Regions from separate parts of the Homo sapiens genome. Here region 1 is linked to region 2. Evidence: promoter capture Hi-C in 16 types of primary human blood cells and fetal thymus (Javierre and others, 2016). All regions are on one chromosome and are shown on one strand. The core of a region is centred on a gene start or on the middle of the fragment in contact, and the rest is flanking DNA. Distances in the headings are between cores, read along the strand shown. Region 1 has its middle 48 kb from the start of DHRS9. Region 2 holds the start of METTL5 (methyltransferase 5, N6-adenosine).

Evidence for each region. The method cuts DNA at HindIII sites, captures the fragments that hold promoters and counts their contacts. A CHiCAGO score of 5 or more calls a contact.
Region 1: a contact is called between a fragment that was not itself captured here and the fragment with the promoter of METTL5 in region 2, in 1 of 17 cell types (neutrophils). The highest score is 5.5, in neutrophils.

What each region holds. Positions count from the first base shown.
Region 1 is chr2:169,114,837-169,119,556 of GRCh38, forward strand. It overlaps the pseudogene UBE2V1P6. Among named protein-coding and RNA genes, the nearest start is that of DHRS9, 48 kb to the left of the region's middle. The HindIII fragment of the contact is 3,103 bases long and covers 963-4,065 here.
Region 2 is chr2:169,822,262-169,827,550 of GRCh38, forward strand. METTL5 (methyltransferase 5, N6-adenosine) reads right to left here and starts at 2,644. Exons shown (of 7, transcript NM_014168.4): 1 at 2,228-2,644. The coding sequence starts at 2,336. It overlaps UBR3 (ubiquitin protein ligase E3 component n-recognin 3), which reads left to right and starts at 5,193. Exons shown (of 39, transcript NM_172070.4): 1 at 5,193-5,289. The coding sequence starts at 5,247. RefSeq lists silencers at 3,190-3,393, 4,987-5,289. The HindIII fragment of the contact is 10,424 bases long and covers 1-3,781 here.

The DNA.
Region 1 (4,720 bases), core at 1,264-3,763, 710 kb before region 2:
GCCTTGATTGCCCTCGTAGCCTAGAGTGAGGCAGCATCCTGGCTGAGGGCAAGTCCATCGAGGAGCACAGCTGTGAGCTCTCCGCAGCTGGGAGATGGGAACACAGGCCCTGGTGAGGAATCCAGAAGGAGCATCATGGTATGTCTCTAAATTTCATCTGATGCTGCTATCACGTTCTAGCATGCTTGATTTGTGAGAATTGAACAGAACAATTTGCCGAGCCAGGACTGTGTTGTATTTAGCAAAGGATGAATTAACCTACAAATAAAAATGACCTGGCCCTCCATGAACCAGGTTTTCTAACAGGGCAACCACTCCAAAAAGTAAGTACTAGAGGAGTGATGCCACCACAGGCTTGGGAGTAAAAGTCCCTCAGAATTTCCAACTGTTGGAAGAACTGGAACAAGGTTAGAAAGGAGTAGGTGATGGCACAGGTGGCTGGGGTGTAGAAGACGATGAAGACATGATACTTACAAGATGGACAGAGATGGTAACTGGGCCTCCAAGAACAACTGATGAAAACCGAATATACAGCCTTAAAATAAAATGTGGACCTAAATACCCAGAAGGACCCCACTTTGTAAGATTTTTCACAAAAATTAATATGAATGGAGTTAAGAGTTCTAATGGAGTGGTAGACCAAGAGCCATATCAGTGCTAGCAAAATGGCAGAATTCATAGAGCATCAAAGTGGTTCTGCTGGTGTGAGTTGACTGAAGGATACAAAATAAATTTAAAAAATAAGAGATACAAAGTTGTTCTGCAAGAGCTTTAGCACCTAATGATGTCTAAAGAAAATATGAAACTCCCTCAGCCACCTGAAGGACACTGTTACAGCAGTTAATCAAAAAGTAAAACCACAGGGCCTTCACCTTTTCCCTCATTCAACTGAAGCAGTCTTCATTTTCCACAGTAGTAAATTTTCTAGGTACATCTTGTAGACCTGAAAGTACTGGAAAGAAAGCTTCCATTCAAAGGAAATTTATCTTAAGATATTGTAAATGATACTAATTTTTTTGTCCATTTGAAATATATAAGTTGTGCTATAATAAATCATCATGTCAAGTGTAAATACTGTCCACGTAGTTGAGCTTCTGGCATCAAGAAAATCTATTTAAATTGATTCCTGTCATAACTGGTGGGACACATCTAACTCAGCTGTAAAAAGACACATCACACAATCACCTTGTTGCTGATGACATGGCCTGGGGTCTCTGCCTTCTCCCACTTCCCCTCCCTCTCCCCTCTCTGCAACAGCCCTCTAGCCTGAGGGCTGCTTGTTAGAGTAGACGTGATGATTTAGGGTTGCAGCCTGTGGAACTACTGCTGGGTATGTGAGGAGCTTTGCCTGCATCCCTGGTCTTTTTCTTTAAGCCTTAAATGATGCCGCTTCCAAGCCATCCTCTTGTCCCCACACTCCTCCATTCCCACCCTTGGCCAGAGCATAGATTGTAATCCCTCCGCTCGCCTGTGGTGAAGAATTCAGGGATTTCCCCATATCTTCTCTCCCCCACTTTATCGAGGGGTGCTGTTTTTTCCTCCCCCTCCTCAAGTCCCTTTTTGCACTGTCACCACCCAATACTTTCCATGACATTTCCTTGCTTTGGCCAGAAGCCAGGTAAAGTTGGAACAAGTCTCTGACCTCCCTGGTTTAGTTTTGGAACTGCATTTATTCACTTGCCACCAGCCTGGGAAGTAAATATTAGGTCCTCAGCCCTGCCACCCTCTGCTATCATCATCAGCTGATGAGTTTTTTTGGCTCAGATTTCGATAAGCTGAAAAGAACAGTCAACCAGGGTTACTCAGACCTGCCAGCTCTCAGAGTCTTTGGTGGCTAAACTTGGAGAAAGACCTCATGAAGACACTTGTAAGCACACATGATCCCTCTGAATTATTTTCTTTTGCTTTCATTTCTTCTTCAACTTTTAAAAATTGAAGAAGTTTTAAACAGGGCTCTCATCTGGTCATCCTTGCAATCCACTGGGGTCTCGTTTGGAATCTGGCAGCTGGAACATAAAGACCCTTGAATTCAGCGCATCCTTTGGTTTTGGTGGTGCTGCGTCTCAAAATCCTCAGCAGGGATTAAGAAAGCACTCAGTGTGCGCAGCAGATCCTGGAAATTGGTGGGCTTGACTTCTGGCAAAGTGCTGCATTTTTCCACTTTCTGTTCAGGACCACTAAATGCTGAAATGTGGATGCATACCAAAATAAAAGAAATTCATTGTGTACTGAAATAAAACAAAAAGCAGCCCTAGAGGAAGGTTTCCTAACACTCCTATCTCTCTCTCTCCTCCCACCACTTACCTTCTTTCTTTATCTTTTCCTCTGCTCTGTTAGTTTTATTCTTGAGCTCAGCTGTCAGAGGCAGCCTTTGATGGATGTGTGGTTGGTCCTTTCAGGCCCCCTGGAAAAGAAGGCTGAGGGGACAGGGAGGGATGAGGCTTGGATGATAAGTGAGGAAAGGAAGGGGGGAACTTAGAAGGATGGAGGGATGGGAAGGAGGGGAAGTCCTCTTTTTGAGTCAATAGAGTCAGAATCCTTTTCCTGACCAGAAGCACACATGTGATGGCTGTTTTAAGTGGAAGGAAATGACCCAGTCTTCTGAGGATACAGAATTTAAAGCTGAGTGAGGTGGTACCCAAAGTTCTGTATTGCAGAAAGGGAGGCATTCTGATCTTGCAGATGAAAGAGACATTTCTCTGATATCAAACATTAGCACAGGAAATGTGTCCTGGGTTGTTTCCATTTGTCTCTACAGACCAATTTATCACCTGAAGAATTAAACTTACATTCAATGCTAGAAAGGTCAGGGGTGGTTGAAATTGTACTGGCCCTGACTTCATGAGCTGGCTTTTCAGACCTCATAGGAACCTTGCCCATACCCCTTTAGATGGTCTCTACTTGCTTCTTCAACTCATTGACTAGTGAGCATTGCATGGCTCATGCTGGAATGCAAAGGGGAATTTATTTGTTTTCTTTTTGTGTGTGTGTAAAGTATACCAGTTATTCAGATTCCAGGGAATAGCCATTGAAGAAATCTATTCTAAATGTTTTATTTCAAGACCGACTTATTTATACAATTGTTACCAGATGGAAGGTCTTGACTGTGAGTTGTCCAGGTTCTTAGCACTTTGAACAAAGAACTGAACAAAATGCACAAAGCGACAAAAGAACGAAGTAACAAAAGCACAGATTTATTAAAGCAAAAGTACTTTTCACAGAGTAGGAGCCTGTAGGAGCTCTTGTAGGAGCGGGCTCCAGCAAGTGGTTCAAGAGCTTCCCCTCCCATTAAGATTTTTATTAAGATATTTATTAATTTTTATTTAGTTTGGTAACACCCCTAGGTGCCCTTTAGAGGCCTCCAGTTGGTCACACCCTATGAAGGATTGGCCTGTGACCAATCAGTGGCTGAAGTGGAGACTTGGCTCATGGTCAATTAGAGGCTGAAGTGGAAACTTCTGTCTTGTTATCTCAGGAGCTAGGATGTATGCTGTATGCTGCTTAATGTTGCCTAGAACTGGCTGCACCTGCTGTTCTTTTGCTTCTGCCTTAACCCTTGGTTACCCTAATTCCCAATTCTCCTGCCTCACAATGACTCACACGTTTGACAGTTACCCTTTCTCTTTCAAGGAGGCATGAGAAAACCTCTAATTAGATCCATGGAGGCTGTGGTCACAAAGAAAGCCCCCAATTCACACACAACCCGTGATTCTCAGCCTTCCTGCCCATCTTCACCCTTCCCTCAGCTTGGGGGATATCTAGGATCTCTTGAGAATCTATAAACTAAGAAGACAAAGGGGAAGAAGTTGAGGAAATCAAGAACAAGTTGGGACCACTAAGCCTACCTTTTTGACCCCATCTGTGGTGGGGGCTGGGAGTTGTGGAGTTCTGGCTCCCAGGTGATCAGGCCTTGTGGTAAGGACAAGGTCTCTGATTGTAGGGAGCCTGGCGTGGAGTCCTAGTCTCATGACTTAACCTGCTATATTCTTGGGGTATGTTATTTAATCTCTTGGCACCTAAGTTATTTTACTGAATAAAATGGAGATATGATAGTACTAGCTCTCAAGCTTAGTATGAGAACTAAAGGAAATAATGCATTCAAATGCAAGCCCCACGAGATTAGGGATGTTTATTTCATTTGCACTATAACCCCTGATGCCCACACCAGTATTCTTGGTGCTCAAATATTTGTTGAGTGAATGATGTAGGTAAACCACTTAACGTAGGGCTGGAACACAACCCATGCTCACAGCAACATAGTGGATGTTTTGCCAGAGATGCTTACTGCACTCTGCTTCTAACCTAATCCGACGTCCGCCAACAGTCCTTGTATTTGGCTCTGTCATGCAGAGTTGTGCAGGGGAACTGTGGGATCATGGTGGCAGCTAGATACTTAAGGTTGGTGCTTGGAGCCTGCTGAGGAGTGGGCCCAGCCTGGGTGGGGTGCCAAGCTGATGAATTTCACACAGCAGGGGTCCTGGAATGTTTGAAGAGAGGCTGCTGGGTGCTGGCAAAGGGGTCCATTGGGGAGCTGGCAGGAAGCCAAAGATCCAACATGCTTGGTTTGTTTCAGGAACTTTCCCAGGACTGGCCCAAGACCCAGGAAAGGAGGACGTTTTCTTTTTCTTTTTTCTGTATTCTCTTCCTTCCTGACTGTGTGACTTTCTGTTGCCAAACCACAGAACCAAGCCTCAAGCAATGAATTCTACAGCTGGGCTAC
Region 2 (5,289 bases), core at 1,394-3,893:
TTTCTCAAAAAATAGTCTCTGCTAGCAATGCCAAGAATGACAAAACTGTGCCCAGTCTCTGAGGTAAAATAAAAAAAAGTCAAAACGTTTAGTTTTTCCTCAGCTTGTTAAAAACATTGCCATATACTCATATCGGTTCTTTCTTTGATGCTGAAATATTTTTAAGAAAGAATGGTAAGAGTAAATAGTTTTTAAAAAAATCCTTTTTTGTCAACATAAATTTGGCAACTCTATCAATTTCCAAAATTGTTTTGAAATTTTACTTATCTGTGAAATCTATAAGACTAGGAACCACTATCAAACAAGCATTAGCATCACAAAGACATAGAATCTTTTTTTTTCTTTTTTTTTTAAACACAGGTTCTCACTATATTGCCCACGCTGCTCTCGAACTCCAGGGCTCAAGTGATCCTCCCGCCCCGGCTTTCCAAAGTGTTGGGATTACAGACATGAGCCACTGTGCCTAGCCACAGAACTTTGTTTTAACAAGTTTGTCACCAGAACACAAGCACCATAAGCTCCACAATGTAGCCTTTAGACACATATACTCATGATCTACAGACATATATATTCATAATCTACAAATGAGACCTGATAATAGAACTACTGGGTGTTAGATACACACTGAAGGTCAAACATGAATACCACCACCACCGATATTTCCCTGAAGATATCTGAACCCAGCAAGGACTGTTGGCCACTGATTCCTGCGGATCCAGAAGTTTTTTGTTGTTTTTTTTCAGAGACAGGGTCTATCTCTATCACCCAGGCTGGGGTGCAGTGGCGGATCAGAGCTCACTGCAGCCTGAAATTCCAGGGCTCAAGCAATTCTCCTGCCTTAGTATCAGCAGCTGGGACTATAGGCACATACTACCACACTAGGCTAATTTTTTTTTTTTAAGAGCTGGGGTCTCACTGTATTGCCCAGGCTGATCTTGAACTCCTGGGCTCGTCATCCTCTTGCCTTGGCCTCCCAAAGTGCTGGGATTATAGGGGTGAGTCACTGTACTTGGCCAGATTGTTATTATTTTTTAAACTGGATTCCACTAAAAAAACCTACAGTCAGAAGACTAGTAAGTCATTATTTGAGAAAACTGGTCTTAACCTAGACACAGTAGTTTTGTGTGAATTTTTGGTTGGAATCATGACAGTATCTTGGAGTTAAGTGTAAATACACATGTATTCTCCTTGACTTTCATTGACAACTTAGAAACAACTATTTTGGAACTGGAAAAAACTCCTTGCAGGTACTCTCAGAAAATTAATTTTCCTAAGGAGCCAGCCTCAGTGGCTCATGCCTGTAATCTCAGCACTTCTTGAGGCCCCAGTGGGAAGATCGCTTCAGCCCAGGAGTCTGAGACCATCTTGGGCAACATAGCAAGACGCTGTCTCTACAAAAAATAAAAAATATTAGCCAGGCATGACGGTGCATGCCTGTAGTCCCAGCTACTCGGGAGGCTTAGGTAGGAGGATCACTTGAGTCCTGGAGGTCAAGGCTGCAGTTGCCGTGATCATGCCACTGCACTCCAGCCTGGGTGACAGAGTGAGACCCTTATCTCAAAAAATAATAATAATAAAATTTTTTTCCCCTAAGGTTTCCCAATGACTTCGGTAACATAAATATATGTTGTCCTGTATTCTCTCTTGTACTCCCAGTATCAATATCTGGCATGAAGCAACAATGCTAATGCTCAGAAAATCTGTTAAAATATGCATGCTCATCTTTACACAGCACATACTCTGATTTTGTTAAACTATCATTCCACTATCAACTCTGGTATTCATTTCTAGGGCAGAGTATATAGCACAAGAATCCTTGCGTAGGCAATTAGTAGCAATGGGAAACTGATCCTTATTTAGTAAATGTTTACTGAGCTCCTAAATAGTACCAGCGACTCTTCTGGGCACTGGGAATTCAAGTATGAACAAGTCTAACAAATTCCTTGTCCTCAGAGATTGTAATGTGAGAAGAGAAAAAAACACATTAAAAAGATGTCTGGCAGTGTTAAGGGATATGCAGAAAACTAGACAGTAAAATGATAGTGTGTATGTCTGTGGAGGGTGTGCCTTGAGCTGCAGTGTCAAGGAAGGCCTCTCTAACGCGACAGGTGATCTTAGGGCAGAATTTCTCTAGACATTCTCTGTATCCAAATAACTGTTCTATTTTTATCACAGAGTAGACTGGACTAACGCCGAAAGCCGGGGCGTGGTGAACCAGCCGCCCTACCTGCAATGTGCGGCCTGGTAGGATACTGTTCCAGAAGTAGCTTGGGCTTTTCAAATCCATCCACTTGTTGCAGGCGACTCTCTAGTTCCTTAAGCCTTACTTTCTTCATTTTGTTTTAAAGTATGGACTCGTAGGGTTTGAAGGCACAGGATCTGCGGAGAAATCTATTGAACTGGGATCTTGTTTCCTCCCTACCCCCAACCTTCTCCCTTTTTCAGCACCGCTGGCCGGACCCGAAGACGCGCCCTAAGGAGACGCCCGGACGCAGGGCACGGGGCGAGCCTCTGACCCACCTCCCGGCTAACCCAAGCCGCCCCAGGAGACGGCGGCGGCGCACTGCTGGAGCAGCCTCAGGATCCCTCGCGCCACGACCACGCACCTCTGGAGGCGACCCGCACCTCGGCCGGTGCCGGAAGCGCCAGGCCGCACGCGCGCACGCGTTCGCCGCCCAGCGGCCCGGCGCCGAGCTGCAGCGTTTATCTTGAGCCGGGGTTCCGCTGGCCACCTGGGGGCCTCATTGCCCCATCCCCTCCGCCTGCAAAGCCTGCGCTACTTGCTGACCCACCGCCAGTCCTCGCCGCCTGTCGCGTGCTCATTACCCTCTAGTTTGCCATGAGTACCTGCGGGCCCTCAAAGGATGGGGAAAGACAGAGTGAAAGGGATGCGGGAGAGAAAGTCACAGTCACTTTGTTGTATGGCCCAGAGTGACTCTTCTTGTTTCCCAAGTCTCGGCTCAAAAAGTAGCGATCTCCATTCACCTTTACCTCCTTCTCCATTCTCATGCCTTATTTTATTGTAACTTTGTTTCCCAATTTTTAGGTCATTTGTGTCACTTGCAATTCTCACAGGAGTGGTGATGTCAAAGAAACCCAAAGAAGAGATAGTGGAGAGGCAGGGCGCGGCGGCTCACGCCTGTAATCCCAGCACTTTGGGAGGCCGAGGTGGGTGGATCACGAGGTCAGGAGATTGAGACCATCCTGGCTAACACGGTGAAACCCTGTCCCTACTAAAATTACAAAAAAATTAGCCGGGCTTGGTGGCGGGCGCCTGTAGTCCCAGTTACTCGGGAGGCTGAGGCAGGAGAATGGCGTGAACCCGGAAGGCGGAGCTTGTAGTGAGCCGAGATCAAGCTACTGCACTCCAGCCTGGGAGACAGAGCGAGACTCCGTCTCAAAAAAAAAAAGACAGTGGAAATGAAAATAAAAGAATAGGTAGTGGTGTCAAATACTGGAAAGAGGTCGGGCTTCATAAAGTAGGAGCAGAAATTAAGTTGTAGCAGATTGTGGAGCGAATGGAAATTTAGGAAGAAGAAAGAGTAAATGTGAACAATTAAACGTGGCCCCGGAAGCGGTGGCTCACCCCTGTGATCCCAACATTTTGGGAGGCCGAGATGGGCGGATTGCTTGAGACGGGAGTTTGAGACCAGCCTGGGCAACATAAGGAGACCCTGTCTCTACTAAAAATACAAAAATTAGCTGGGTCTGATGACGCGAGCCTGTGGTCCCAGCTGCTCGGGTGGCTGGGGTGGGAAAATCGCTTGAGCCCGGGAGGCAAAGCTTCCAGTGATCTGAAATTGCGCCACTGCACTCCAGTCTGGTCGACAGTGAGACCCTGTCTCAAAAAAAAAAAAAAAAAAAAGAAAGAAGAAAAGAAAGAGAAAGAGAAAGGTGGCCTACGAAAAGAATGGTTGGATGCTTAGTAATGGGGGAAGCTTTATTATTTTTTCAATTATTTTTAAGACAGGAGGAGACAAATTCTGACAAGAATTGAGCTAATAGAAAGAGAGGGGTTAAAAATGCAAGAGGATATTGGATGGAGTTGGGATCCTGAGAAGGCAGGATCCAGTGGTTAAGTAAAAGGATTGCAGGATTGCGTTTAAGCCTGTGGATGGACACCTCTTTGCATTATTATAGGAAGAAGAAAAAGAGTGAATGGACGATGACGAAGTAGAGAAGTGTCTGAGGCTGCTACTTCTAGGAATAGCAGAATTCAAAGTTATCTGTTATGAGAATCAAATGAGTTAAAACATACAAAGTTTTAGCATGTAAAGTTAATACATAAAGTTTTATTTAGTTTATAATTTAGTGATTCGTAAAATTATTGAGCAAATTTAACTTATCACTGTTATATGATGATCGTGACATACTTAACTCATGTAGAAGACCAGGAATAACCTGTTTTAATTATGTTTCATTCATTTCAAACACAAGGTTATGGATTGGAAACACTCCTGTTCTTCTTTGTTGTTGTTGTTGTTGTTGTTGTTTTTAGAGACGGAGTCTCGCTTTGTCACCCAGGCTGGAGTGCAGTGGCGCGATCTCGGCTCACTACAACCCCCGCCTCCTGGGTTCAAGTGATTCTCCTGCCTCAGCCTCCGGAGTAGCTGGGATTACAGGCGTGCGCCACCATGCCCGGCTAATTTTTGTATTTTTAGTAGAGACAGGGTTTCACCATGTCAGCCAGGCTGATCTCAAACTCCTCACCTCAAGTAATCCGCCTGCCTCGGCCTCCCAAAGTGCTGGGATTACAGGCGTGAGCCACCGCGCCTGGCCTTCTGTTCTTCTTTGGATTGCTTTTCCTACAGTTTTTGTTTTCCTTAAGTTGGGGTTTCATTCTGTCGCCCGCTGGACTTTGATAACAGTAGGAATGTACATCTCAGACAAAATGCAGATGCCTAAAGTACATCTGAAAGATGATGTGAATAATTCCTGTAGTCTATGCAAATAAAGAAATAATTGCCCTTATTAAAGATTTCCTATAAGGTGAGTACTTTATTTCAGTAGCTCTTAACTTAGAAAGTTGGGAGCCTAGCTTGGTCCACAGGCGCCCAGGAGAGAGGGGCGGGAGGAAGGCTCTGCAGCCCGAGGGGGCGTGTGTAGGGGCGGGGCTGCGGGCGGAGGAGCGCGGACGCTCCGGGTATCGCGAGAGTTGGGCGGGCCGAGCAATCGCAGCAGTCTATTCCCTCACTCTCCCTGGAGGAGCCGCTGGCCCTGGACTCTCCAAATTCTGAGCTCTCATCATGGCGGCGGCGGCCGCGGCGGCCGTCGGGGGCCAGCAGCCGT